Linked DNA regions of Homo sapiens: regions 1, 3 and 4 are each linked to region 2. The links are contacts of gene promoters, found by promoter capture Hi-C in blood cells and fetal thymus (Javierre and others, 2016). All regions are on one chromosome and are shown on one strand. The core of a region is centred on a gene start or on the middle of the fragment in contact, and the rest is flanking DNA. Distances in the headings are between cores, read along the strand shown.

Evidence for each region. Contacts are between HindIII fragments. The CHiCAGO score rates a contact against its expected background, and 5 or more counts as called.
Region 1: a contact is called between a fragment that was not itself captured here and the fragment with the promoter of B3GALNT2 in region 2, in 1 of 17 cell types (M2 macrophages). The highest score is 6.5, in M2 macrophages.
Region 3: a contact is called between a fragment that was not itself captured here and the fragment with the promoter of B3GALNT2 in region 2, in 3 of 17 cell types (erythroblasts, activated CD4 T cells and megakaryocytes). The highest score is 6.8, in erythroblasts.
Region 4: a contact is called between a fragment that was not itself captured here and the fragment with the promoter of B3GALNT2 in region 2, in 1 of 17 cell types (M1 macrophages). The highest score is 6.1, in M1 macrophages.

What each region holds. Positions count from the first base shown.
Region 1 is chr1:235,656,204-235,661,414 of GRCh38, forward strand. LYST (lysosomal trafficking regulator) reads right to left here. Exons shown (of 53, transcript NM_000081.4): 53 at 4,838-5,211. Among named protein-coding and RNA genes, the nearest start is that of GNG4, 9.0 kb to the left of the region's middle. The HindIII fragment of the contact is 3,698 bases long and covers 2,092-5,211 here.
Region 2 is chr1:235,500,589-235,505,729 of GRCh38, forward strand. It overlaps B3GALNT2 (beta-1,3-N-acetylgalactosaminyltransferase 2), which reads right to left and starts at 3,864. Exons shown (of 12, transcript NM_152490.5): 1 at 3,553-3,864. The coding sequence starts at 3,664. RefSeq lists a silencer at 3,393-4,032 and enhancers at 3,966-4,642, 4,343-4,462. The HindIII fragment of the contact is 19,953 bases long and covers 1-5,141 here.
Region 3 is chr1:235,736,338-235,741,535 of GRCh38, forward strand. LYST (lysosomal trafficking regulator) reads right to left here. Exons shown (of 53, transcript NM_000081.4): 31 at 5,085-5,198. It also overlaps the pseudogene LDHAP2. Among named protein-coding and RNA genes, the nearest start is that of GNG4, 89 kb to the left of the region's middle. The HindIII fragment of the contact is 5,542 bases long and covers 1-4,436 here.
Region 4 is chr1:235,688,164-235,693,981 of GRCh38, forward strand. LYST (lysosomal trafficking regulator) reads right to left here. Exons shown (of 53, transcript NM_000081.4): 47 at 5,187-5,323. Among named protein-coding and RNA genes, the nearest start is that of GNG4, 41 kb to the left of the region's middle. The HindIII fragment of the contact is 225 bases long and covers 1,692-1,916 here.

The DNA of each region.
Region 1 (5,211 bases), core at 2,691-5,190, 160 kb after region 2:
ACTGCAAAATATTGTCTAATATGGAGCGATTTACTGCATAGAGAAAATATAAGGATTACCAGATTGAAAGAGAGACAGGTTGCTTCTGGCACAATTTGTCCCTGAATGATAATGAAACTGTTGGTCTTAAATAGGGCTCTAAATAAGCCTTTTTCAGTGGATCTAAAAGGAGCTTTTGTCGTTTCTGACAGGACATGTGTACACAACTCTTGTCACTTTTATGCTTGTTTTAATATTTGTATAAGAACTATCCCGAGATAAATAAGGAAGAACTGTAATCTACTAAAACGGAGGACAAGAAAAGAGTTAAGAGACCCTTTAGGGGAGTCAAATAAGTTCACTCCAAGGAAAGTGTGTAAGTGAAGATAATCTAGTGTGGGCTTCATTTTTGTGAAAGACGTTATCCAAACACAAAGAAAAGCAAGCAGGACTTGGTAGTTTATTTGGGGTTGGGAAGTTTTTTTAAAAATGATCAAGAAGGACGGGCACGGTGGCTCATGCCTCTATCCCAGCACTTTGGGAGGCCAAGGCGGGCAGATCACCTGAGGTCAGAAGTTCGAGACCAGCCTGACCCATATGGTGAAACCCTATCTCTACTAAAAATACAAAAATTATCCAGGCATGGTGGCACGCACCTGTAATCCCAGCTACTTGGGAGGCTGAGGCAGGAGAATCTCTTGAACCCGGGAGGTGGAGGTTGCAGTGAGCCAAGATCACGCCACTGCACTCCAGGCTGGGCAACAGAGCAAGACTCTGTCTGAAACAAACAAACAAACAAACAAACAAAAAATCAAGAAAAGAAACAGTAAGACATGGTACCTGTCCGTCCGTCCTGTGACGCTTGCTTGCTTTCTTCCTTCGTTTCTCCCAAGTACCTAATCTACCCTACTCCAGTGATACTATGCATTGCTCAAAATCTTAAAAAAATTCCTCTTTTGGAATTACTTGCAGAATCACACATTTTTTTTCAGTACCTCGTAACTGTAACTTGTTTGTGACGAAAACAGTTCTATTTCTCAGATTCAGCTCTGATGATTTTTGTTTTCGAAACTCATAGATGTTCACAAGAGAAAGATTGTCCAACACAAAGTATATACCGAATAATTGGTTGTAATAACTGAGGAAATTTAAAGTTCAGGAGAACACAGTGGCAGAGACTACCAGTTAAACATAAAGCAGTGAGCAGCACCACTGAGCACATGTATCCGTGAGGCGGGGCTGAAGCTGGCTTTGAAATGCCTGCAGCAGGGAACAGAGAACAAACAATGCTTGGGTCTAAAAATGCACATGGTGGAAAGGGTGGTGGAAACAGCTGTTCTTCTAGTCTCCACCTCAGGCTGTGAGACCTTTTACCTCCTAACCCTGTTCTCCAGACCGTTGTAGAAAATAAAATAGCATGTCTAATTCATATCCACGTAGGAGCACAGGTAAGTGGCTTTTACTTGGTTGTAATAAACTACTACTGTGCAGAAAATTGTGTATAGAAACTACATAATGAAGTTACCTAATTACTCATTTGTATTTAGATTATATCAACCACTATGAAAATTATAGCTTAATTTTTACTAAAAGTCTCAGAAAAGACAGTCTTTTTTATTTACCCTTGGAACTGGATTCCAAGGACTTTTACAGCTATTTTAACAAAATTAAAATCTGAGAATGAAACACCAGTTCATTATCATCAGTCTTCAGAAGTTTTGGTAAGACCTGTTTACTTTACTTTGGCAATGAGCCAAACTTTGCCACGAGACAACCTTTTTCAAACTCATCTCTCATTAACTTCCTTCATGAAGGAAGAAACGAACTCAGCTCTTGAGCAGGAATATTGTAGCCTAGTCTCAAATGATCTTCTAGTCATTTTGGCCTCAAAGGACACACTGTATTATTTAATTTCTCTCAAACAGCTGAGTTGCAACCCAGTGTCCCCAAAGTGGCAAGATATAGTTTTCTGTTGTCACATGACACATGATATAGGTGGCACCTCTTTCTCAACTCAATGTGCATATACGTGTATATGTTTGGTATCGGCAAATGTAGCTGCCTTAATTGTGCAGTTGAAAACGACTGGGGGAAATCCTGCATGCAACATGAAGCTTTTGCAATACTCCACAATACCAGTTTGTGCTCAACCTACAAGCTCTTTTGCTACCTTTGACCTCAGTGGTGAATTGTTCTCTCCAGTAGCAGTTGTTTTGTTTCCTTCCCATCTACCCTCCAACTGCTAATGCTTTTCAGTTGGTCTTTCTGCTTCAAGGTTTTAAGCTCATTAGGTTTTAAAGTGCTTTGGCTTCATAGTACATGGAGTGTTATCCTGAGAAGGAGTACAATGAAAAAATAATATAGCTGACCAAGATGTGAGACAGTTTGGGACAAACTGGGGACACCTGAAGGATAATCAGCAAAGAGGGCCTGCAACATGCATAATCCAAGAACTCCCATTGTTCTGCAATTACTGATAAAAAATGTTCACTCGTTGAGTTTGTTTCCTCTCATTTTTATATACGTTGGCCTTGCCAGGTGCAGTGGCTCACGCCTGTAATCCCAGCACTTTGGGAGGCCGAGGCAGGTGGATCACCTGAGGTCAGGAGTTTGAGACCAGCCTGGCCCACATGGTGAAACCTCGTCTCTACTAAAAATACAACATTAGCTGGGCGAGGCTGCAGGCGCCCGTATTCCCAGCTACTGGGGAGGCTGAGGCAAGAGACTCACTTGAACCTGGGAGGCGGAGGTTGCAGTGAGCCGAGATTGCACCCTTGCACTCCAGCCTGGAAAACAAAAGTAAAACTCTATCTCAAAAAAAAAAAAAAAAAAATCGGCCTTGTAGCTTTTTTTTTTTGCTTTTCCCCTCAGAACATAAACACGTCATCCAAAATAGTGAGAAGCAGGTCACCAGGCATGAGCTCTTTTTTTTTTTAATTGTTTTTTTTTTTTGAGACTGAGTCTTGCTCTGTCGCCCAGGCTGGAGTGCAGTGCTCACTGCAACCTCTGCCTCCTGGGTTCAAGCGATTCTCATGCCTCAGCCTCCCCAGTAGCTGGGATGACAGGCCCGTGCCACCACGCCTGCCTAATTTTTGTATTTTTTAGTAGAGATGGGGTTTCACAATGTTGGCCAGGCTAGCCTGGAGCCCCTGAGCTCATGATCCGCCCACCTCAGCCTCCCAAAGTGCTGGGACTACAGGCATGAGCCACTGCGCCCGCTGCATGAGCTCTTTCGAGCTGGAAAGAATCCCGCTCCCCTCCCTTCCCCACCCAGCCTCTAGCCTCGGGCTTGCACAGAACTGGCGTTCAGTGAACATTGTGGAAAGGGTGAGTCCAACTGAGACTTTCAGGTAAAGAGGGGACATCTGGGTTGGCAGGCTCACACCGACAAAATGCTACTGCTCAGTTCTCTTTGGGACAGACACCTAGGAACAGGAATGCTGTAGTCTTGAGAATCTTAAAATACCACAGATGCAAAGCAGAAAGAAGGGCAGCCCTCGGGCCCTTGGACTGCTGTTGTTGACGTCACCCACCGTTTTCACTCCCACCCTCACCCACCAAGAAGCTGAGACAGGGACAGGATGTTCTTTCCTTCCCTGGGCCTTTGCTGATGTTCCTGCCCCAGTTATTGAACATGTATTATCTGGAACACATCTGCCCCCATCTTCACCAAATTTCCGATCATTCATTGGGTTTCAACAGAAATTTCAATTTTTCTTTTTTGAGACGGAGTCTCGTTCTGTTGCCCAGGCTGGAGTGCAGTGTCAAAATCTCAGTCACTGCAACCTCTGCCTCCCAGGTTCAAGCAATTATCCTGCCTTAGCCTCCCAAGTAGCTGGGACTACAGGCGCCTACCACCATGCCTTGCTAATTTTTGTATTTTTAGTAGAGATGGGGTTTCATCATGTTGGCCAGGCTGGTCTCTAACTCCTGATCTCAAGTGATCTGCCTACCTCACCCTCCCAAAGTGCTGGGATTACAGGCATGAGCCACCACGCCTCACCAAAAATTTCAATTTTTCAAGAGGCTTTCTAGATCACCTCAATCTAAATAAAGTCCTTCCTCTTACATTCTTTCAGAGTACCCTATATTTTACCTAACACTTACCATGGTTTGTAACTGTACATATTGTGTGTTATTTATGGTGGTTTCTCCACCAGCCTGTAACCTCCAGGAGTGCAGGGGACCACCGTGCTTTGTGCAGCACGATATCCTCAGCACTTGGTACAGTGCCTGGCACCTGGCAAGGGCTCAATATAGATCTGCTGTGGGGTCGGGGGTGGGCAGATGGTTTTTTCTTTAAAATGAGCGGTTTGATCTTGGGACTAGTGTCCACACCATCTAAGGGTAGTAAAGGTTGAAACATAAAATTTTAGTACAAAAACCACAATAAGAAATGAAAGTTAGGCCGGGCGTGGTGGCTCACACCTGTAATCCCAGCACTTTGGGAGGCCAAGGCAGGTGGATCACGAGGTCAGGAGATTGAGACCATCCTGGCTAACACGGTGAAGCCCCGTCTCTACTAAAAATACAAAAAAAAAAAAAAAAAAAAAAAAAGTTAGCCGGGCGTCGTGGCACACTCCTGTAGTCCCAGCTACTTGGAAGGCTGAGGCTGGAGAATCGCTTGAACCTGGGAGGCGGAGGTTGCAGTGAGCTGAGATCGTGCCACTGCACTCCAGCCTGGGCGACAGAGCTAAACTACATCTCAAAAAAAAAAAAAAAAAAGAAAGTTATCTTTTTCTAGTGATATAAATGCATAGTGGAGCTAAAGACAGAACCTATGTGGGTTACACAGAAAGCCATCGATTTGAGATCTGCTCATAATATTTAAATAGCTTAAAGAAGAGGTGTTTACATCTATTTTTATGAAATTTATTTCCAAATTGAAGAGGCAGTGTATATAAAGGTAACAGAGCTTGTGATAATTTACAGAAATGTTTGCTACAACATGCACATTATGAAGTATTTCAAACATATACATATTAGGTTTCATGCTGAATAAATAATCCCCCCAAATTAATTTTTATTTTTACATAAAAATATAATATTGCACTCTTAACAAGACCAGTTATTCTGCATATTTTCTCTTTAGATAAATGATGAAATTCGGTTTTTAAAAAAAGATGAGTAGCAACCCTATTCTAATAGGGGACTAATTTAAAGTTCTCAGTAAAAAAATGAAAGCTAGACAATAGCTGCAATTTTTTGTTAACAAAGCAAATCACTTCAACG
Region 2 (5,141 bases), core at 2,614-5,113:
CTTGGAAGAGTCACAAATAGATACAAATCTTGAAAATGAAGAAAACATGTGAGCCTGTCACAGATCTAATGATAAAGACAATCATCATACACACTACCAAAGACACCTCCCAAAACACCACACTAGCACAGGCATCAGCGGCCACCAGACTACCACTCCTCTCTCAAACTCATGGAGTGTTTACTATGAAACAGGCACTGTTGCGGGTGTTTCATTAATTGAATCTTCACAATAAGTCTATGAGATCATCATCTTATAAATAAGGAAACTGAAGCACAGAGACACAATTAGCATATAGGGATAATTTTGGAAGAACTCACCCCAGGCAAAATTACAAAGCAAGCTCAATTTGTTTTCTGACCTTCTACTTGCTCTACATCTGTTTCCATTAGATACTGTGAGCACCTTGGGAGAAGGGACTAGGCATCCAGCACAGAATCTAACACTCAAGTACTTGTTGAGTGAATATGCTCCTTTGTTTTGGTTTCTTTCTTTCCAGATACCCTAGAAAGCGAAGCCTTCTTTTGTCACATCATTTTTCTAAATTAACCGTTAAATAATTCCTACTTAAGGCATTACCCAAAACGAGCATTTTGTAATCAAGATATCCTATGTTTAGATTCCTTAGTCCGATGGTTATCTCCACCTGCATTTTCCTCTGTCACCCTCAGGTGTACTGGATTTCACTTCCTCTTTACCAGTTGCTTTCCCTGACTGGTTTAAGGGAACCTATCACATTAAAAAAGTTGCTGACTCTGGTACTAAGGTGACTCACTTACTTCATTCTGGTCCCTGCTCAACTGTTACCTCTTCAGAATGGAATGGACTTCCCTGACCTATTTAAAACCATCTCTTTAATCTCTTAACACTGCTTTATCTTTTTTCCCTATACTTATCACTACCGCTGTGATATTTATAATTATTTCCTGATGCTCTGTCTTCCCTTCTAAATTGTAAACTACATGAGGGCAGGAAGTTTAGCTTGATTACTGCTGTAATTCCACACCTACGATAGGAGCTGGCACAGAGTAGGCTCTCAAATATTTGCTGAATCAACTGCGAGCCAAAGAACCTTTTTTAATATTCAGGGAAGGTAAATCGCTCTTTCAAAAAAAACAAAGAAACTGCCATTACTTAATGAGACTGAAGACAGACAAAGCAGCAGAAGAGAAAAAAAAATACATTTAAAAATGTTAATTCAAGAAAAGAATACTTAGCAAAATCTTGGGTTTTTTTTTCTCCTGTTAGGCTTAAAGTACAAGGGTTAAAATGTAAAAACACCCAACTATTTTAGTTTCAACATGGTGACAGCACAATGGTAAAGGAATTATGGGAAATTTTAGCATTTAAGATGCTTCCACTGCTTTTAGCTTTGAAAGTACCAAAAGGAAAAAAGGAAAGGTAGGAGTCAGTCTTGTTTAATTAATTAATTAATTATTTTGAGATGGACTTTCGCTCTTGTCACCCAGGCTGGAGTGCAGTGGCGCAATCTCGTCTCACTGCAACCTCCGCCTCCGAGGTTCAAGTGATTCTCCTGCCTCAGCCTCCTTAGTAGCTGGGATTACAGGCATGCACCACTATGCCCGGCTAATTTTTGTATTTTTAGTAGAGACGGGGTTTCGCCATGTTGGCCAGGCTGGTCTTGAACTCCTGACCTCAGGTGATCCACCCACCACGGCCTCCCAAAGTGTTGGGATTACAGGCGTGAGGCACCGCGCCGGGCCAGTCATGTTTAACTTAGATTATTAAAATATCGATGGTTGACAGCTGCAGCAAACCACCATGGCACACGTTTACCTATGTAACAAACTTGCACGTCCTGCACACGTATCCCGGAACTTAAAAAAAAATCCCATTTATTATCTGACCAGATACACAGTACTCATTCAAAGCCAAAGTTAATTAACATAACTAGTATTGATCTTCTTACCTACGTTATTACCCTGTTCCTTTCTATGGTCTACTTCTTCATTTCCTTAATCTAGCCTGGTCTAACTACTGGATGGCAGATAAAGGCATCATCCTTCAAGTGCAGTAAGGGAGTAGGAAAAACTTGTCTCAAACTAGAAAACTGCCTAGCAAGTCTACTAAGATTTCAGTTTGAAGTCTACTAACATTTCAGTTTTTGTTTGTTTTACTGAACCCTAAACAACCATTAAGGCCATAAACAGACTTAATGACGCTCTACAAGGAGATTCCAGCAGGGCTCACTCATAACAAAAGAGAGAAACCTGTAACACACAAGCAGCTGTTACAAAGCATTTTTTATATATGGCGTTCTCTTCTTAGTTCACTTCACAAAAACCTAAAAAACACTGAGCAAAACCCTGACCCCATCAACTGGTTAAGTGCATAGCAACACTGTACTTTCATTAAATCACTTAAATAGTGTTTAATTCTATTCAGGTCACACAAATCCTTTTCAAAGAGCTAGTGATCTAATAGGAAAAGAGATTGTTACCAAAATAACCTCAACATAATTTCATATAACTGAGACTGTTTTGAGGATTGCCGAATACTTTCTACTTATAAGGCATAGAGTGCTGAACTGCAAACACTCAATTCTAATTTTAAGAACTTTTGGATTAGAAAACAGCTGTTTTGGGGAGAGATGGTAAGGGAAAAAAGTCCCAGTATAGTTACAAAATTAAGTATTACATAATATTTAAAAGAGCTTTCTAGGTTTCTTTCATGTTCTAGGGCAAGCCCTTAAAGAAGAAGACAAGAGATACAGGGAAAGCTAAAGTAGTGTTCAGGGTGGTGGAACCCACTAACAAAACAATCCGCTGGGCACCGTAAGTAAAGCATTCTATTAGGCTGTGACGCGAAACAAGAACAAAGGTTTCATTCCTACGAGAGATTAAGTTTTAGAGCAAATGGACACGATCGTTAAAGAATTTGATATTTCCATGTAAACTGCATTAGCAGGTTATGCGATCCAAACTCACAGGAACAACTCCAACTCTCGGCCATGCCCTATTTCATGTCTAGATTTGTTTAACCGACTTACATCATAATCCAAGAATACGAACTACAGTATATTCTTACAGCAAAGTTATTCCTTAAAAGCAAAACCGAGCCACCTTTGAAAACACGCACACACATTATCCACGGCACTAAAACCCCAGTCTTGACCGAGAAAGACCAACAACTTGGGGGGGAAGAAAACAACTTCAGAGCCAGAGCTCCCAAAGCAGAAAGCGCTGGCGGCTGAAGGGCACACGAGGTTCCGCTCCCGGGCGAACGGGCGGCGTCGGACATCACTAACCAGGCCTGGGGACAGGCGAAGGACTTGCAACTGCGGGCGCCGGCTCTGCGGGCGTTAAGGGAAACGGGGAAGTGAGAAGAGGCGGGGACACGAAAAGAGAAAAGCTCCCTCAAGTTTGCCCGATGTTAACGCTCCAAGGATGAAAAGAGCCGTTTGTTTCGTCTGGGGACCGTCGCGTTTGGCCCTTCCCCCGCCTCCAACAATTCCCGGCGAAGCCCCGCGGCACCAAGCCGGGCCTCCCACCCCCCCGGCGGCCGCCAACCCGCCCGGCCCCAGGACCTCACCTGCAGGGCCGGCCCCGGAGGCGCAGGCGGGCGGCGGGGAGCGCAGCCGCAGCCAGAGGTGCAGCGCGGCCCCGAGCACACACGGGCACAGCAGCACCAGCCAGTTTCGCATTGGCCGCCCCCGCCGCGAGCCGGGCTCTCCCGCGTCCCGGCGGAGAGGGAGGGGACCTGCAAGTGCGGAGACTGAGGGGCGGCGGCTGACGAGCGACCACTCCGAGCACGCCCGCCCTCGCGCTCGGCGACGTCTGGGGGGCTCCTCGCAGCTCCCGGCCCCGCTCCTCCGGTCCCTCAGACCGCGGGTGGCCGCGGCTTAGCCGGCCGAAGCCCCGCCCCCTCCGCCTGGCCTTCCCACCGGCTCCGCCCACCTTTTCTCCCACTCGCCCCGCCCTCTCCTCCCGCGTTTCCACACGCGCCAGCCAGCCGGCCGGGAGCTGAAGTCCCGCTCTGGGCCCAGGCAGGGGGCGCCCGCGGTTTAGAAACCACATTTCCCATGAGCCTAAGCACGCGCTTCCGTCACTCGGCGGCCGCGGGGGCGAAGGGCGAGGCCCCACACAGAGCATGCGCATCCCCCTTGACGTTTGCTGCCACCCCACGGCCCAGGGGAGGTAGTGCCGGAGACCCGGTGCTCGGAGGCTGCCCGGAGCCGCGAAGGGAAATGCGCTTTGCCTCAGATTTGAAGGAAATCCGAGTGGCTCTTGTGTGAAATCACGCAGAGCTCCTTTGTTCCGCGTGCTCTCTTGCTCGACTGCTGTGGGAGGTGGGATCCTGCTGACGTCTCCTTGGCCCGTAGAGTGGGGCGAGGAAGCCCGAGTGTCCGCGCCTGGAGCGGTGACTCATCAGGGATTAGCTCTGGTGCCGTGGGTTCCCGGCTCTTTGCCCGGTTCTGTGCTCTGGGAACGCAGGGTGACAGACAGCGAGCTGGGGACTAGGCTGTGGAACACGATGATGACGAGCCAATCAGGGTAGAACTGCACGTGCTCCGGGTTCATACTGGAGCTGGGAGCGAAACGGGAGCCGGGCGAGCTGGGAGAACGTGGGCTCCGGGGACCTGGGGAAGGGTGGCCGCAGCGAGCCTTCCAGGGAGAACGCCGGCCCCGCGTCTTGAGGCTTTGCCCCGGGTGGGAGCCCTCCTGGCCCACCAGGCCCGCGCCGAGGCAGCCGGAAAGCGGGGACGGGGCGGTGAAGGCACTGGGGTGAGGATGGGAGAGAAGGATGAGAACGAGCGGCTGGGCTATGGGGCGGTTTTTGTTTCTGCTTTTGTTTTTGAGACGGAGTCTCACTCTGTCACCCAAGCTGTAGTGCAATGGCGCGATCTCGGCTCGCTGCAACCTCCGCCTCCTGGGTTCAAGCGATTCTCCTGCCTCAGCCTCCTGAGTGGCTGGGATTACAGGCGCCCGCCACTGCGCCCAGCTAATTTTTGTATTTTTTTTGTAGAGACGAGGTTTCGCCATGTTGGCCAGGCTGGTCTCCAGCTCCTGACCTCAGGTGATCCGCCCGCCTCGGCCTCCCAAAATGCTTGGATTACAGGCGTGAGCCACCGCGCTCGGCCGCGGTTTTTTTTTTTTTTTTTTTAAGTTTCCACAAGTGTG
Region 3 (5,198 bases), core at 416-2,915, 230 kb after region 2:
AGACTACAGAAAGGGAGAAAGGTTTTAAAGAAGGTATAGAGTGATCTGGGTCATGGCCAAATGAATGGATAGAATGAGGATATAGATAGACAAAGGAGAGAGAGGTGTTCTGTGCTGGTGGACAATATGAATAAAACAGCATGACTGTAAAAATAAACAGGATGTGAAGAGGTTGCAAGACACAAAGATATGATTATCTTGAAAAGAAGAGGGTCAGCAGGCTGGAGAGTTAATCAGAATCAAGTTGTAATGGCAAAGAAGTCTGGGGCTTAAAAAATCCAGGCACATTCCAAATGAAATACAAATTAAATGTATGCAGCTGTGAAAAGGCATAAAGAAGATCACTCTGTACTACTATGTAATAATGATCTCTAGGATATACTAAGTGAAGAAAGTAAGGTGCAGAAGAGTGTGTATACTTTGCTATCTTTCTTTGTGTTATGAAGTAGGGGACAGAATATTTACATGTGTAAATACATGTATACATAGATTTGCTTGTATCTTCAACAGAAAAAAAAAGTCAGTTACCTACACAGAGAGGGAAAAAATAAGAGGAGCGGAAAGGGATAAAAGCTAGAACCTCTCTGAATGTGCTGTTTCACAACGTTGCTTTTAGAACCATGTAGACATTTCACATGATTAAAAACAAAATTAAGCAAACAAACAAAAACCCAAAGGAATCCCAAAAAACTATAAAACAAACTGGAAAAAAAAGCCTACCTACCTATCTAATTGGTTGAAGTTGGCAGCCTGACCAAATAAAGAAAACTATTTTAAGTGCTTTTATAATACAGTATTTTCACTGTATAACCATAATAGTATGCTAAGAAAAAAAGAACCACAAAGACATCTTCAACTGCACTCAGCAGGATTGTTATTAGTGATCATGTTGATCATCTTATTTTGAAAATGTTATATATGTAGAAAGACAAGGCAAATAAGTGATTATGTTAATGTTAGGAACCAAGATATCAACATTAGTAAGAAATACAAATAAAAGAATCCAAGAAAAAGTGAAAGTATAAACTCATGACTTGTCTTTCTAAAAAAATACTTATTTCCTAGCTTTGTCCACTAAAAAAGGCTGAGAAGAAATGACAACCCAGGAGAAATAAACATACCTAGTCCTTAGATTTGTAGTCTCTAAATACTATCATCTCCTTAAAAGGATATAAGGTCTTCTTGGGAGGGAAGTTAGGTTCTAGGTTTGGGGAAGGAATTGCATAAGGTGGGCCTGGGACATTCTTCTGTGCCAGAAAACAAGGAAGTTTAATCATATTAACTTGTTAAAATGAAAAAGGCCATGTCGACACAACAACTTGAATCTACAGAGGTGTTAATTTTAATATCAAACTGAATAATGACTGCAATAGACTAAAACACATAACATTTATTTTAAAATACCTGAGCTCCTAATGACACTCCAAAAATAAAAACAAATACAAGAATTAGAGGCTACTAGGGGCATGAATTCATCATTCCAAAAATTAATAAACAGGGAAGGAAACAGCATTTATCCTGCTTTTCCTTGACTGACTGTATTTAAAGGTAGCGAAGGTGCTGGAGCCGCTGCCGACGAGTCTGGATCTCACTGCCGCGTGCCCCAACACCCGCCGGACGTGCATTCTCGATTCCTTTTGTTTCCAAGTCCAATATACTCTCAAGTATACGCTCAAGGATCAGCTTATTCACAGTCTTCTAAAGGAAGAACAGATCCTCCAGAATAAGATTACAGTTGTTGGGGTTGGTGCTCTTGGCATGGCCTGTGCCATCGGTATCTTAATGAAGGACTTGGCAGGCGAACTTGCTCTTGTTGATGTCATGGAAGACAAATTGAAGGGCGAGATGATGGATCTCCACCATGGCAGCCTTTTCCTTAGAACACCAAAGATTGTCTCTGGCAAAGACTATACTGTAACTGTAAACTCCAAGCTGGTCACTATCACGGCTGAGGCACATCGCAAGAGGGAGAAAGCCATCTTAATTTGGTCCAGTGTAATGTGAACATCTTTAAATTCATCATTCCTAATGTTGTAAAATACAGCCCGAACTGCAAGTTGCTTATTGTTTCAAATCCAGTGGATATCTTTGACCTATAGTGGCTTGGAAGATAATGGCTTTCCCAAAAACCATGTTATTGGAAGTGGTTGCAATCTGGACTCAGCCCAATTCCGTTACCCAATGGGGGAAAGGCTGGGAGTTCACACATTAAGCTGTCATGGGTGAGTCCTTGGGGAACATGGAGATTCTAGTGTGCCTGTATGGAGTAAAGCAAATGTTACTGGTGTCTCCCTCAAGACTCTGCACCCAGATTTAGGGACTGACATAGATAAGGAACAGTGGAAAGAGGTTCACAAGCAGGTGGTTGAGAGTGCTTACGAGGTGATCAAACTCAAAGGCTACACATCCTGGGCCATTGGACTCTCTGTGGCAGATTTGGCAGAAAGTATAATGAAGAATCTTAGGCGGGTGCACCCAATTTCCACCATGATTGGTGGAATAAAGGATGATGTCTTCCTTAGCATTCCTTGCATCTTGGGAGAGAATGGAATCTCAGACCGTGTGAAGGTGACTCTGACTCCTGAGGAAGGGGCCCATTTGAAGAACAGTGCAGATCCACTTTGGGGGATACAAAAAGAGCTGCAATTTTAAAGTCTTCTGATGTCATACTATTTCACTGTCTAGGCTACAATAGGATTTTAGTTGGAGGTTGTGCATATTGTCCTTTTTATCTGATCTGTGATTAAAGCAGTGATGTTAAGATGGATTGGGAAAAACATCAATTCCTAAGGTTAGAAATAGGAATGGTTTGTAAAATCCTACAGTATATTCTGTAGGTACTATATCCTGTAGGTAGCTATAACTTGTAGTACCATTCTGTAGGCTGGATGGTACTAATCTTGTGTAGTCCTAAACTGGTTTGTGTGAAATAGTTCTGACACCTCTAAGGCACCACTGCCAATGCTGCACATGCTGCAGTTGGCCCTTGAGCCAGATGGATGTTTACCGTGTGTTATATAAATAACTTCCTGGCTCCTTCATTGAACATGTCTAGTCCAACATTTTTTCCCAATCAGTCACATCCTGGATCCAGTATATAAATCCAATATTGCATGTATGGTGCATAATTGTTCCAAAGGATCTTATTTTGTGAACTATATATATCAGTAGTGTACATTACCATATTATGTAAAGAGATCTACATATAAACAATGCAACCAACTATCCAAGTGTCATACTAACTAAAACCCACAATAAACCTTGAACAGTGAAAAAAAAAAATAGAAAAAAAAAAAAACGTAGTCAAATAGTTGACAAGGGAAAGTTCTTCCCTATAGTAAAGTCAGAGCTTATAGATGCTGATGGAATGAGAGACTTAGAGAAATCACTATTTTGTAACTCTTTAATGAAAAAGTGGATCTTGGCAATTATCATCAGTGGCTGCTAAAACTATTAGGTTAAAGATAATATCCTCAGTCTTCGTGGGTGAATAAACAACTGGCCTTGGTGACGAAATGGATTGAGAAAGAGAAGAAAAAGTCAACGACAACCACAGTTAAAAATTTCAAGCTGAAATTCAATAATGATACCACTGACAGACACGAAGTAGTGGGAAAGGGAAGATGGTATGAGAAAAAGTGGACTGTTAACACCGCAGTTGAATTTTGATGGATAGCAACTTTGCTGAGTATAAAGGAAAGAAAAAAACACCATTTCAAATTCTCCACAGAAGGAAAATACAGGCTAAATATGCTTCTGTCTTGGGAAAAGGAAGACAGTGCCCTCAGTGTACTTGAAAGTGTCTTAATACTGGAAAAAGCACCTAAAAGTATTCCTTCCAGATAGTTTTGACTCCTAATATGATATGTGTTTTCCATGTATTAAAGGGGATACCTATCCTTTTTAATATATCCTCTCTCATCTCTATTGAGGTATAACTTACATATAATAAAGCATAGATATATTAAGTGTTTCTATGAGTTTTGACAATTGCATACATCCATTTAACCACTACTCAAAATAAGACCTTATTTTTATCACCCCAGAAAGTTCCCTTAAACCTCTTTCCAGTCAATTCCCTTTCTCACCGTCCCCCTTCCACAGAGACAACTACTGTCCTGAATTCTATCGTCATATCTTGGTTTTGCTTGTTCCTTCAGATGAATAGAATCACAGATTGTACTCCTTTGTGTTTGGCTGTCCCTTTCCCCACTCAATGTTTCTGAGATTCATCCATAATGGTAGATGTACCAGTAGTCTGTTCCTTTTTAGAGCTGTATAATAGTCTATATGGTGCTGTAGAATAGTCTATACAGATTTCTCTCTACAGGTATAAAGAAATCACAATGTGTTTGTACATTCTTCTGTTGATAAGCATTTGAATATTTGTAGTTTTTGGCCATTATGAAAAAGGCTGACATAGATATTCTTAAACAAGCTTTTTTATGAACATATGTTTTAATTTCTTTTTCAGGTAAATATCTAAAAATGGAGTAACATGGTGACAAGTTAAATATATGTTTAATTTTTTAAGAAACTGTTAAACAGCCCTCCAATATGGTTTAATGTACCTTTTAAACTTTCCAACTACCACTCTTGAAGTGATAAACTTTATACACTCTGAAATTCTTTTAGGTATTTTGGGTTTGATTATTCCAAATGATTAATAATTTTTATCTATTTTAACTGACCACATATATTTTTGAGATATGTTATATATACTGTTGTTTGAGCTATTCAATATAGATGTTTCACAGGTAATATAATGCTTTTTTAAAAAGCCTCCAAACAATCCTTAAATAAAACACTTCAAGATGTGTTAACACATTACAAAGTTTCTGACAGAAACTCTGAAACAGAACTTCTTAATTTAGGCACTAGAAAAAAGATTGGGAAATAAACACAGAGGTTAAATTGAGCCTGTGTGAAAGCACCTGAGAAAGACCTTAGGTTAAATTTGCTTGGTAAGAAAATTATATTTATAAATTAGGCATGAACATTCAGTTTAATTTCAGTTCTTGTTTTATTCAGACTTTGTATTTCACCAAACGTTTTACTTCTCTTATCAAAGCTGAGATACTTACTTGTAGGGATGGGCTGAGACAGTCTCGTAGTATTTCCTGATGATTTGGTTCATGAACTATTTCAAAAATTTGCTTTCTCTCTTGTGCAGCGTGGGCTGGCGACAAAATATGCAC
Region 4 (5,818 bases), core at 554-3,053, 190 kb after region 2:
ACTCATTCTGTCTTGGAATTACCACATGGATCCAGTGAATCAACCTAAGTTACATTACAAGATCTTAATAACTAACTTGTTTTTCTATATCCTGAAACATTTAGCGATTTCATCATTCTAAAAATTATTTCATCACTACTCATCAATTATTCCTAAATACGCAAAAAACAAACAAACAAGCAAGGAAATGGGAGAATGATGGAATCTCCCAAGAGGATAATCTAATATGTGAACTAAATCGTCATCTTTTGGTTTTCTTATTGCATTGTCCAAAGTATAGTGTCATCTTTCAGGAAAGTATAAAAGAAGGCTGGAGACACCACTTCTGTAGTCTACTTTTGGCTTTCATTGAACACGGTGGAGAATTCAGAATTTTTCATTTTCTACCAAGAAAGCTGACAGAGGAAGATGTTTCACAATTATGAGACTAATCACAACATGAAGGCACACAGCCGTCAGGACTCTAGACTCTACTGATGATGATGAAATTGATCATATAAGTGAAATCTCAGAGCGTGAGTCTTTATATAACAAAATCCTGGCTGGGCACAGTGGCTCATGCCTGTAACCCAGCACTTTGGGAGGCCGAGGCGGGCGGATCATGAGGTCAGGAGATCGAGACCATCCTGGCTAACATGGTGAAACCCCGTCTCTACTAAACATACAAAAAAATTAGCTGGGTGTGGTGGCACGCACCTGTAGTCCCAGGTACTAGGGACGGTGAGGCAGGAGAATCGCTTGAACCCAGGAGGGGGAGGTTGCAGTGAGCCGAGATCGCACCACTGCACTCCAGCCTGGCAACAGAGTGAGACTCCGTCTCAAATAATAATAATAATAATAATAATAATAATAATAATAATAATAACAACAACAACAACAACAACAATAATATCCTAGCTGAATTTTCTCAAATCAAAGAATTAATGGGTGAACAAAAATATATCTTTAGAAATGTATCTCTAGATGAAAATGCAATATAGTATTCTCATCCAGTTTAGTCATTTGACTCAAAGTATCACACAATGTCATCACATCTTGTTTTGCTAACAGGACTTGTGATAGTGTTCTTTCATCTTTATTTTCATCTATTATGATACAAATAATTTTGCAATGTTTAAATTCTTTTATATACATGAAATATTATTCAGCCTTTAAAAAGATGGAAATCCTGTTATTTGTGATAACACAAATGACCCTGGGGGACACTGTATTAAGTAAAATCTGCCAGGCACAGAAAGACAAATACTGTATGATCCTGCTCCTATGTGGAATCTAAAAAAAGCTGAACTACAGAGAGTAGAGTAGCAGTAGCCAGGGGCTGAGAGTGCTGGTAATGTGTGTGGAATGGAGAGATGGTGGTCAAAGGGTACAGGTTTCAGTTGTGCAGGATGATTACGTTCTGGAGATCTAACGTAGAGGATGGTGACTACTGTTAATAATACTGTGTTGTATTCTTGAAATTTGCTAAGATAGTAGATCTTAAATATTCTCATCACACACGTAAAAAATGCTAACTATGTGAGGTGACGAATGTGTTAATTAGCCTGACTGTAGTAATCATTTCACAATGTATATATACATGTATTAAAACATCACATTGTATACCTTAAATATATACAATTTTATTTGTCAATTTTATCCCAATAAAGCTAGAAAAAAATAAAAATAAGAATTTTAAACAACTTTATTCAAGCTTTGGATCTGCTAAACTAACAAGTCAATTTACTTGGCAAAAACAATTTGACTAAATGCTTGTCTTTGTACTGGTGAAAATAAATTAGTGAATCGGAAAGCATCTTTAAAGTTATTTGTTCATCTTTGTCCTCTCTTCACACCACATCAATCTAATGTAACAGTACCCAACTCTTAAATAGAAGGAATGCCTAGTAATTAAAGGTGTAAAGAATTTGATTGAAAGCTTATGTTATATCTTTAACATTGCGTTGAAAACATTCAATTAATACTGATGATGATTTCATTTTTCTTCACTTTTCATTGGAAAGTCAAGATGTTTGTAAATACAGATTACTGATGACAGCAATGAGTTAAATCTGCTCATAAATTTGTGTCAGTGTATTTTGACAGGTAGAATGTATTGTATATCTAACTCCCACTGTACATATTTGTCTGTTTTTCCCAATTTATAATAATCCCAAAAAGGGTGCAGTAAGGGACATACTGATTCTATAATATGTTTTTGTGTTTTCATTTATTTTGTAGACTCATTTCCAATTTAGTTATACTACAAGCTTTGCCATGATTTATGGTTATAACTTGTTTGTGTTTGGATATATATATTTCTATCTGCATACAAAGGCTCTGGTTAATGCAGCCTGATGTTTCAAAACTAAAAAAAAAATCTTATTAAAGTTCCTAGTAAAGTTGTTTTTCACTGTCTCTTTATTCTTACTTCTGTCAGTTTCCTGGTAAGCTATATAACAAATGGTGGCAATATTTTGGTCAGGGATATTGAGGGTTATGCAAACAAGGCACTGCTCCTCTTGCTTTCACTGCTAAACATTCCCCTAAGTAGCTTCCTCCATTTCTAAAGAGCTCAGGGAATGGGATACATTTTAGGACACATGATAAGGCAGCAGGTGTTATGCAGGTAATGGAAATCAGAGGATGAATGGTAAGAGAACTTCCCATGGAAAGAGAGTCAAAAAAGAAGGCTGTCCATACGATTTACAGTCTGGAACGGTTGCAGCAGCATACTGTATATTTACATGGTATTTTACAGTTTACAAGTTTCTTTTTTTTTTTTTTCCCTTGAGACAGAGTCTCGTTCTGTTGCCCAGGCTGGAGTGCAGTGGTGCAATCTTGGCTCACTGCAAGCTCCGCCTCCCGGGTTCACGCCATTCTCCTGCCTCAGCCTCCCGAGTAGCTGGGACTACAGGCGCCCGCCACCACGCCCAGCTAATTTTTTTTGTATTTTTAGTAGAGACGGGGTTTCACTGTGTTAGCCAGGATGGTCTCGATCTCCTGACCTTGTGATCCGCCCGCCTCGGCCTCCCAAAGCGCTGGGATAACAGGCTTGAGCCACCGCGCCTGGCTACAGTTTACAAGTTTCTTTCACAAACACTGGAAACATTTTACAGCAGCTTTCTGAGAAAGAAGTGTGAGTACTATTATCTTGGTTGTAATGAGGAGGAAAGAAACTCAAGTTTGGAGAGATTAAGTTACTAGTCAAAGGCTGCAGTTAGTATATAACGAAGCTGGGACACTAACAAAGATCACAGGGCTTTAGGCCCAATGTTCTTTCTACTATACATGATGTCTGAATAACCAGTCCATTTAGGAAAAATCAGGTATAAAAGATGGCACTATGGTTACAGAAAATGACCTAATGACAAAGGTGAGTGAACACTGAGAAGAAGGCAATGCTGATTTGGTTCAAACACTATGCCCTTCACTGATGTTGAGCAGGAGATTTTGATAATATTCTCTCAATGAGAAAATGGGTAGAAAACAAATTTGGGGGACACAAATAGTGGTAGTTAGGAAGTCTGTAAGTACTATAAACATCAGATTCTCTCTTTTTTTTTTTTTTGAGATGGAGTTTTGCTCTGGTTGCTGATGCTGGAGCGCAATGGCACGATCTCAGCTCACTGCAACCTCTGCCTCCCAGGTTCAAGTGATTCTCCTGCCTCAGCCTCCCGAGTAGCTGGGATTTACAGGTGCCCACCACCATGCGTGGCTAATTTTTGCATTTTTCATAGAGGCAGGGTTTCACCATGTTGGCCAGGCTGGTCTCGAACTCCTGACCTCAGGTGATCCCCGCACCTTGGCCTCCCAAAGTGCTAGGATTACAGGCGTGAGCCACCATGCCCAGCCTAACATCAGATTCTTGACTGGACAAATTGCAGGATATTAAAAACTGGCTGCTTGGCTGGGCACAGTGGCTCACGCATGTAATCCCAGCACTTTGGGAGGCTGAGGCGGGAGAATCACCTGAGGTCAGGAGTTCGAGACCAACCTGGCTAACATGGTGAAACCCCGTCCCTACTAAAAATACAAAAATTAGCCAAGTGTGGTGGCACATGCCTGTAGTCCCAGCTACTTCGGAAGCTGAGGCAGGAGAATTGCTTGAATCCGGGAGGCGGAGGTTGCAGTGGGCACAGATCACACCACTGTACTCCAGCCTGGGCGATGGAGCGAGACTTCATCTCATAACAAACCAACCAACCAACCAACCAACCAACCTAGCTGCTATCAGTCTGACTCTTTTTTTTTTAAGATGGAGTCTCGCTCTTGTCACCCAGGCTGGAATGCAATGGCGTGATCTTGGCTCACTGCAACCTCTGCCTCCTGGGTTCAAGCGATTCTCCTGCCTCAGCCTCCTGAGTAGCTGGAATTACAGGAATGTGCCACCATGCCTGGCTAATTTTTTTTGTATTTTTAGTAGAGATGGGTTTTCCCCGTGTTGGCCAGGCTGGTCTTGAACTCCTGACCTCAGGCGATCTGCCCGCCTCAGCCTCCCAAAGTGCTGGGATTACAGGCATGAGCCACTGTGCCCAGCCAGTCTGACTCATTTTTATGCATTAACCATTATAAAGATACCACAAAAACGTTTACATGGGCCAGACACAGTGGCTCACTGTAATCCCAGCACTCTGGGAGGCCAAGGCGGGTGAATCATTTGAGTCCAGGAGTTTGAGGCCAGCCTGGGCAACATGGAGAAACCCTATCTCCACAGATAATATAAAAATTATCCAGGCATGGTGGCACGCACCTGTAGTCCCAGCTACTTGGGAAGCTGAGGGAGGAGGATCACTTGAGTCTGGGAGGTGGAGGGTGCAGTTAGCTGAGAGTGTGCTTTTGCACTCCAGCCTGGGCAACAGAGCGACACTCTAAAATTAAAAAAAAAGTTGGCCAGGTGTGGTGGCTCACACCTGTAATCCCAGCACTTTGGGAGGCCAAGGCGGGCAGATAACAAGGTCAGGAGATCGAGACCATCCTTGCTAACACGATGAAATCCCGTCTCTACTAAAAGAATACAAAAAGTCAGCTGGGCGTGGTGGCAGGTGCCTGTAGTCCCAGCTACTTGGGAGGCTGAGGCAGGAGAATGGCGTGAGCCGGGAGGTGGAGCTTGCAGTGAGCCAAGATGTGTCACTGCGCTCCAGCTTGGGCGGCAGAGTGAGACTCCGTCTTAAAAATAAATAAATAAAATAAAATAAAGTGTTTACCTGGTACTGTTGTGAACTTTGAATAAAGTTTACTGGAGGCTCACTTTGTTTACTCTTCAACCTTAAAATATTATCAGCATATCCCCAGCTCAGGATGGCTGACCACTGAATGTCCGTACTGTTCATGCTTCTCACACCTCAAGGAGAAGGAGAAAGAAAAGTATCAGATTGTCACTGCTCGACTGTTACATGACAGCCCAAAACTGGCAGATTAAAGGGTGAAGTTTACATAGCAGAACATATCATTTGGTGCAAGACCATCTTTAAATCTCTAAAATGGAACAATTTTTTAGTTTTATTCCTTTAATGCTAACAGGGTTCTCAGGGTGGGATTATATTTTTTCACTTGTGTTGTTTTGACTGGGATTTGTTTGACTCAGAACTAAAATTTCTGTTAAGAAATTATTATAAAAGACAGTAATAGTGAAGCTTACTCTATTCATGTTCTGAGACACCTTTTCTTTTAAAAATAAATATGAACTAGATACTATTTAACTTTCTAGATACCCAGGATAGACAACTGTTAGTAGCAGGAAGATAACACTGCTAGAGTGGAAGCAACACCTAGCCTGAGAAGGGATCATTTAATCCTGTCAACTGCAGGACTGTGTATGGTAGACCTTCATTCAATT